3 separate regions of the Homo sapiens genome follow, and all the other regions are linked to region 2. The links are contacts of gene promoters, found by promoter capture Hi-C in blood cells and fetal thymus (Javierre and others, 2016). All regions are on one chromosome and are shown on one strand. The core of a region is centred on a gene start or on the middle of the fragment in contact, and the rest is flanking DNA. Distances in the headings are between cores, read along the strand shown. Region 1 has its middle 46 kb from the start of SST. Region 2 holds the start of RTP4 (receptor transporter protein 4). Region 3 has its middle 78 kb from the start of SST.

Region 1 (2,700 bases), core at 80-2,579, 260 kb after region 2:
TAAACATGGCCTAAGAAACGGTTACTACAGGAATAATACTGTGAAGAAGGTGAAAATGCTAGAGAGACCGTCTTGTGCCTTTCTCCGAGGAGTTCCGTGAACTGCTCAGTTGCTAAGACTTGATAGGAACTTGTAGAAAGACTTCTGTAGCACTACAAGGCAGTAATACATATTGATGAAAAATCTCTGTTATCAGGCTATCTGTATTTAAGAGTTATAATAACAACAGCTATTCTTAGACAATTCTTTACCATTTATAAGGTATTTTCACACATATCACATCACTTTGCATTTACTGTTTCCCCTATCCTGAACATTCCTCCCTCAGATATCTACCTGGCTTGCTCCCTCACCTACTTCAGAACTGTGTTCAAATGTTATCTTTCCTATTGGCCTAAAGGAAAATTGCAACTGTGCCCACCTCCCCTGAAACTCCCTGTCCGCTTCCCATGATATGCTTCTCCACAGCACTCCTCACTGTCTGACTTGCTATACATTTTACTTGTAGAATGTGAGCTCCCTAGGGAATGAGATCTTTGTATTTTCATGGCTATATTCCCAGTGCCTGGAACACAGTAGTTGCTCAGTTAAGACCTTTTGAGGGAATAAAAGAATACATTGTGAATGCGATTCTCCCCACAGCCTTGAGGAGCAGGAGGCATCATTATTACTATTTTGCAGATGAAGCAACTGAAACTCAGAAGGCTAAGTGGTCAGACCACATGGATGAGAGGGGCAGACCCAGATGACCTCACACTGGCTCACTCTGTGCTCTCCAGAGACACATCTCGGAAACAGACACTTTAACAAGTGCACCCTCCCACTCAGGAAGGAGTGTCCAAGTCAGACGAGTGCTGAGAGCTATAATGCTCAGCCCTGTGCCTGCACCCCTGCATTGGCCCTCTCTTGGCACCTGCCTTACCCACCCTCCAGGGAGTGCGTTCCCAGGCACCCACTGTATTTGATGAGCACCTGCAGGTCTAATTATCCCATTAAGGTAGGATAAACAAAGAAAAAGGAAGGAAGAAATAATTACAAAACAAGCAAACCTGAATGGTCAACACATCAACACAGTAATTACATTTCTCCAAAAAGAAAAAGACAGGAACTAAGCTTTTCCACCTAACTCTTTTTGCTTTCGAATGGAAGCCTCCTCTCTCAGCTGCAGATTACACGGGCTGGCAGCTTTCCCACCCTCACCATGCTCCTTGTTGCCTCTATTGACAGAGGTGAGCCATTACTCTTCACTAAAATTCAGTGTCCACACATTCGCCCCTTGACAACACTCTGGAAATTGATCTCTTCAAATATCTTTGGAACTAAATTAAGGCAATTTGTTCTTTCCCTGATCCACATGGTTGTCCTCTGGGACAGAATCATTGCTAAAAGGATGATCATGATTTTTTGAAAAGGGAGGGAAGTCTTCCGGGAAGGAGGCAATCCAAAATCTTGGTAATATTGAGTATAAGTGATTTTAAAAATCAAATACCATTAATACTGCTATACTGCTTACAAAGAACATTCACATCCATTATCTATAGGATTTAAGCTTTGTGCTACTCTATGAAGAAATTGAGAAATACCTGACTTTCCATTTTATAGGTGGCAAAACTAGGGAAATGACTTACCAAAGTTCACATCCCTGTAAGTGAAAGAGCAACAAATACTCGAATCCAAGTTTTCTGACTCTAAGTGGAAAGCTTTATGCCACAAATATGGTATGTGTGTGTATATGTGTGTAGAGAGAAAGAGAGACTGATTCTATTTTCACCCTGCACCTTCCAAATTGTCTTTTCTGGGCACCTCACTCGGCTTCCCTGTCCTCAGATGTATTTTCCTGCATCAGAGAGCACTCTGGCAGTCCCCAGACTGGCTGTGCTCAGAGGTTAGCATTTTACATTCCACAAGTATTTGGCTTGCTTTAAGAGCATGGACTTCTGAGTCAGACAGACCTGAGTTCCAGCAGGGATAGATTGCACCGATCCTCAACATCTCCACTCACCTCACAGCATTGTTGACAAAATTGTATGAAAAGACGCCATGTGGTATCCATCACAGCTCATGGCACACCGAAAATGCTCAGTAAATGAGAGCAATTCTTGTTGAGTACCCTGTTCACTTCTGTATCACATCTGAGAGGTGGGGGTCCAGGCTCTTATCTTATCTTACATTATTGCTCAAAGCCTTCGCCAGAGTCACTCTCTGGGCATGAGCGTGCATGGAAGCAGTGATATCCTCTAATTTGAAAAGTTCTGGGTGCTGAACAGTAGCAAAGACAGCAGCAGGAATTCCTATTTTCTGAACATTTAGTGTTCTCCATGAATAATTGTCATTAATGTCGTCAGCCGCCCTACCATTAATCCCATTTTAGAAGTATTAACACCATTCATTGTGTCCATAGACCTGCTAAACACTGAATATTTGTGTCACTGCAAAATTCATATGTTGAAACCCAACCCCCAAGGTGATGGCATTTGGAGGCAGGGCCTTGGAGAGGTGATTAGGTCAGGTTAGAGGCCCTCATAAATGAGATTAGTGCTCTTGTAAAAAGGACCCCAGAGAGCTCATTTGCCCCCTTCAGCCATGTGAGAACATAGTAAAAATATGGTGTGATATTATGAGATTGTATATGTGTGTGTGTGTGTGTGTGTGTGTGTGTGTGTGTTTTCATCCACAGTTCCCAGTTTATCACTCCCATAG
Region 2 (2,700 bases), core at 192-2,691:
AAAATGAAGCCACCGACCCTCATGGTGAGTGTTACAGCTCATAAAGGCACAGTGCCCAGAGTTTGTTCCTTCTGATGTTCGGATGTGTTCTGAGTTTCTTCCTTCTGGTGGGTTTATTGTCTTGCTGGCTCAAGAGTGAAGCTGCAGACCTTCCGGGTGAGTGTTAACAGCTGATAAAGGCAGAGCAGACCCAAACACTGCGCAGCAGCAAGATTCATTGCAAAAACCAAAAGAACAAATCTTCCACCACGTGGAAGGGGACCCGAGCCGGTTGTCAGTGCTGGCTGGGGCAGCCTGCTTTTATTCTCTTATCTGGCCCCACCCACATCCTGCAGATTGGTCCATTTTACAGAGAGCCAATTGGTCTGTTTTACAGAGAGCTGATTGGTCCGTTTTGACAGGGTGCTGATTGGTGCATCCACAAACCCTGAGCTAGACACAGGGTGCTGATTGGTGCATTTACAAACCTTGAGCTAGATACAGAGTGCCCATTGGTGTATTCACAATCCCTTAGCTAGACATAAAGGTTCTCCAAGTCCCCACTAGACTCAGGAGCCCAGCTGGCTTCACCCAGTGGATCCCGCCCCGGGGGCAGCAGGTGGAGCTGCCTGCCAGTCCTGCGTGTGTGCCCGCACTTCTCTGCCCTTGGGCGGTCGATGGGACCAGGCACCATGGAGCAGGGGGTGGCACTCGTCGGGGAGGCTTGGGCCATGCAGGAGCCCAGGGTGGGGAGACTCAGGCATGGCGGGCTGCAGGTCCCGAGCCCTGCCCCACAGAGAGGCAGCTAAGGCCCAGCGAGAAATCGAGCTCAGTGCCGGTGGGCCGGCACTGCTGGGGGACCTGGCGCACCCTCCGCAGCTGCTGGCCCAGGTGCTAAGCACTTCACTGCCCAGGGCTGGGGGCCTGCCGGCCGCTCCGAGTGCAGGGCCCGCCAAGCCCACGCCCACCCAGAACTCTAGCTGGCCTGCAAGCCCTGCATGCAGCCCCGGTTCCTGCCCGTGCCTCTCCCTCCACATCTCCCAGCAGGCTGAGGGAGCCGGTTCTGGCTTTGGCCTACCCAGGAAGGGGCTCCCACAGTGCAGTGGCTGGCTGAAGGGCTCCTCCAGCGCGGCCAGAGTGGGCACCGAGGCCGAGGAGGCTCCGAGAGCGAGCGAGGGCTGCGAGGGCTACCAGCATGCTGTCACCTCTCACTTTGCCTATTATAAAAAATGAGAGAGAGAAAATAAAAGCGAATTTATATGTGACCCCAGAATCTAGAACAGAGCTCTTTATCTCTCTCTCAGCAAGGCCTATTAACTAACACAGTTTTGCTGCTGTCTGTTTTCAGAACAAAGACTTGTTCTGTGTACTCAGACAGTCTAAAATGAAGGTTGAAAAAAACAGCTCATGTCCATACACAGAAACAGAAACTGAACCGAACACCGAAACTGAAACTGTTTGTCTCTTCCTGAGAAACGAGCAAACCTGAAAGCTACTCTCTCAGCTTCAGAGGGAAAAAATGGTTGTAGATTTCTGGACTTGGGAGCAGACATTTCAAGAACTAATCCAAGAGGCAAAACCCCGGGCCACATGGACGCTGAAGTTGGATGGCAACCTTCAGCTAGACTGCCTGGCTCAAGGGTGGAAGCAATACCAACAGAGAGCATTTGGCTGGTGAGTGTGGGTTTCCCAGGCAATAGCTCTTCTGAGAAGAGAGGCTCAGGCTCAGCTTAGCATGATTTATTCCTCTGAGAGCTTGTTGAAGGAGTAAATGTCACCAGGGCCTCCATCCTATTGTGGTCATAGTACTCTTTAGGGTCGACATGATAAGACGACTCCAAACCTCCATTTTGTTTAACTGCTGGAAGTTTCTTCTTTTACTAGGTTTCCCTCCGTAAATATTTCTGGAAAACCCTGGAGAAGGCTCCCTATTCCATAAATTTTCCCTTCTAGTTTCTCACCACGTCATTTGTTCCAGACTACCTCTAGAGTCTTTTGCAGTCTCCCCAGCAGTCCTGACCAGCTTCCCCCAGCTGCACCAGCTCTCCAAGCCTTGGCACTGTTCAGTACAAGCCTGGGACGGAGCCTTTTTTTTTTTTTTAAATATCTTAAGAATTGGCTAAGATCAAGCAGTTACTCTGAACATTGCTTTACTGAAGGCCTGGGGATAATAGTATAGAATGATGTTGCAAAAACTAAATCTAAAACCCAGTTCATGGAGTCACCAAGTAATACTCCTCCCTTACTCACCACTTCCCTCTTTAACCCCCAGCAAGCCTCCAGGTTGCAGGAACCAGTTTCCTTGACCATGTTAGGAGGGTGAGAATTGCTGACCTGGATAATCAAATTTATTTTTAAATGACACACAGGACCTTCGGTATAGTTTTCATCTGACCTATTACTCAGCTTGCCTGCCTGCCCCATCCTGCCTCAGGTATGGCCTACTCCATTCCTTATGGACTATTAGCTATGCCATGCATCTTCAGACTTCCACACTCTTGTTCATGGAGTTCTGCTTGTTCAGCAGACCCTCCCCTCACCCCTCCCTGCTCATCCTTCAAGGCCCACTCTAGTGCCTCCTCCTCCTAAAAGCATTCTCTGGTTCTCCTAGGCAGAGTAAGTATTCCTTCGTATACATTCCCATAAGATAATGGGATAAGATAAAATATATATGTATATGTATACATAAATGATATATAATTATATATACATATGTACTAT
Region 3 (2,700 bases), core at 38-2,537, 220 kb after region 2:
AATTCCTTTGGTTTCCCCATAGAAAAACACATTCTGCCCTGTGGCCAGAGCTCCAGCTACCAAGGCCCAGGGGGAGGGGCAGGGGGCGGGTGGGATGCGGTTAGAAAGTGAAATGAGACTTCCTTGGTTCAGTATGCAAATCTTTCCCTTCCCCTTCCCCGTGTTTTAGGCCATATATTAGACATCAGCCTTGCACTATGTGTGGTGCCCCAACTCAGGAATGAAATGATTCTGTTTTCCAAGAGAGCAAGCCTCAGGTCTCCAGTGTTGTGAGGCACGGCTAACTCCCTAGTAGTCTGTAGTAAGAAAGGGAACCGGAGTGCTCACGATTCTTTTTCAGGCTTCCAGCTAATCTCCCTGCTTTTGCTCCCAGCACCCTCTCCCTGCTCTTTCTGCCACAGCTGAGATTCGTAAGGGTTCTGTGGGTCACATCAGCTCACTTCTCATAGCACCCCACTTTTGGGGTCCTTGTGTTGGCATGGTCTTTACCCCACTTTCAGACTTTTCAAAATATGTTGGCATCTCTTGCTGTGGATGCCTCTCCTGTGCTCCTTTGTCCTTGGGACAAGGGCATGTCTGTAATCAATTCAAAATTGTTTTTAATAGAGATAGGATCTCACTATGTTGCCAGGCTGGTCTTGAACTATTGGGCTCACGTGATCCTCCTGCCTTGGCCTTCCAAAGTGCTAGGAGGAAATATTTTTCAATATTTTCCAGTATTTTTAAGGGAAATCCAGACTAGTTTTAAGGCAACATTTAAAACTCTCATGCTTTCCAGGGCCCTGCTTTGAAAACTTTTGAAGATATCCAGATTCCTTAGTTGAGGCTATTTCCACAGTGCTCCTGAGTCTCTGTGGAATCAAATGACTCAAGCAGCTTCAAGAATCCCTTGTATAACATGACCTTTAGAAAAGTAGAGAAAATGAAAAGCTTCTCTTGGAATGCAAATCATCAATTGTTTGAAAAATCCAAAGTTTGCAACATCATCTCAGGGTGGCTGCAAACATCAAACTGATAAAAGAGCCTCTAGAGCTCCTTTTCTGACATAGGGAATTCTGTGTTTGTTTTTCTTATTGTCTTGAGGAGTTGCAGGAGAGCTTTTCTGTTTTCTCTTTTCTCTTTTAGTATTTTAAAATTGAATCAGACTTGAAGTGACTCCTCCTTGAGCATGTGCTAAAGCAGCTGTGATGACCGGAAGTCATGGCCAGAAAATCTTCCACAGGAAACAACACACTCACACACACACCTTTAATTATTCAAACTCCCAAAGGTTCTGAAGTTAAACAAGTTCTTCCTCGGGAGAGCAGACTTGACCCTCTTTTCCCTACTCTCTTCCCCAACCTCAACTCCTGCACAAGAACTTCAAGGACGCAGCCATAAATTAGGTTGACATCTAGAAGCCCCCTCCATCTAAAACTGATGGAGAACCACAAAAACTGGGAAGGTTTCCTCCTCTGGGGCTGTGAATTTCTGCTTCTCTCATTAATAAGATAATTTTACTTCCTTGGGCAAAATGGAGCATAGCTGTCTCTTATTCATGACAGAGAAATCATAATATTATTTTAGTTTATCTTCAGCACCCCTCCAATTCTCATTGAGTTATTCTGGGCGCAAACCAGGTTATTTTTGGCATTTCCAATGTACTAAGCTTCATGAAGAAAAGAGGCAGAAAAGCAGAGTATTTAGGATCCCGGTATTAAACACACTTGGATTGAAATCCTGGCTCCCTCACTACATGCCTATGATGTTTAGTAATATCTGAATATTATTGGTTACTTAATTTATAATATTCATAATTATCTATGAAATACATAATAATATAAACTTTCAATAGGACAGTGAGAAGGATTAAATTTAATAAAGCATATGAGGAGCTAAACTTCTGTGGCATATAGTAAATGCTCAATCAATTTAGGTTGTCATGATTGTAATCAGGAAGATAAAATAACGTGTGTGTGTGTGTTTAGTTATGCTAGATAGGTGATTTTTGAGCTGCAGAGATTTTGAACTCTTAAACGAAGGAATACCATCATTCTCTGTGCTGGACAGACTTTCTGATGGCTCCAGCTTAATTTCCATCATAATGTTGTAAGACTTTCTCCTTAGTTTAGCTAAAAATTGGGTCCTTGCCACATGACCATGAAATATTAGGCTCGCAGACTCTTTGAAGGGTGAGAAAAATGGAATTTATTGGGCGAAAAGGAAAAAAACTCAGCAACACGAGATAGGTTCCTGTAAACATGCTCTCACATCAGATTGAATCCCAGCTTCCACCCAGGAAGAGGAGGGGCCAGGCTCCTGCCTACTGCAACCGGCATGAGCTTCCCGAGGCTCCACCCAAATGCACAGTCCTCCCAGTGTGCAGGCAGGTCAGAGGTTCTCCAGGGATCCCTTTACACTTGGCTGTCTCAATAACTCAACCACAACTCCTCTGCCAAGGACAGTTCACACTGCCTCTCAGAACTGAGCTCATGTAATGGCAGCTCATGTCATCTTCAGAGAGCTCAGCTGTTAGAAAATCATTCTGATTGTCAGCTAAAATGTTGTTCTCTATAATTTTCATCTGTTGGTTATGCAGCCTCTTGAAGGTGCATGATGCGAGTCTAATCTCATCTTCACTCCATGGTCCTCCAGGAATTTGAACACAGCTAGTAAGTGCTCCGCGAGCTTTCTTTTGACTGAGGTCACTAAGCTGAACAT

The links. Contacts are between HindIII fragments. The CHiCAGO score rates a contact against its expected background, and 5 or more counts as called.
Region 1: a fragment that was not itself captured here is called in contact with the fragment with the promoter of RTP4 in region 2 in 1 of 17 cell types (megakaryocytes); the score reaches 5.1 in megakaryocytes.
Region 3: a fragment that was not itself captured here is called in contact with the fragment with the promoter of RTP4 in region 2 in 1 of 17 cell types (M1 macrophages); the score reaches 6.0 in M1 macrophages.

The regions. Positions count from the first base shown.
Region 1 is chr3:187,622,853-187,625,552 of GRCh38, forward strand. No RefSeq gene overlaps it. Among named protein-coding and RNA genes, the nearest start is that of SST, 46 kb to the right of the region's middle. The HindIII fragment of the contact is 436 bases long and covers 1,112-1,547 here.
Region 2 is chr3:187,366,944-187,369,643 of GRCh38, forward strand. RTP4 (receptor transporter protein 4) reads left to right here and starts at 1,442. Exons shown (of 2, transcript NM_022147.3): 1 at 1,442-1,653. The coding sequence starts at 1,499. RefSeq lists an enhancer at 1,303-1,652. The HindIII fragment of the contact is 4,178 bases long and covers 1-2,700 here.
Region 3 is chr3:187,591,164-187,593,863 of GRCh38, forward strand. No RefSeq gene overlaps it. Among named protein-coding and RNA genes, the nearest start is that of SST, 78 kb to the right of the region's middle. The HindIII fragment of the contact is 718 bases long and covers 929-1,646 here.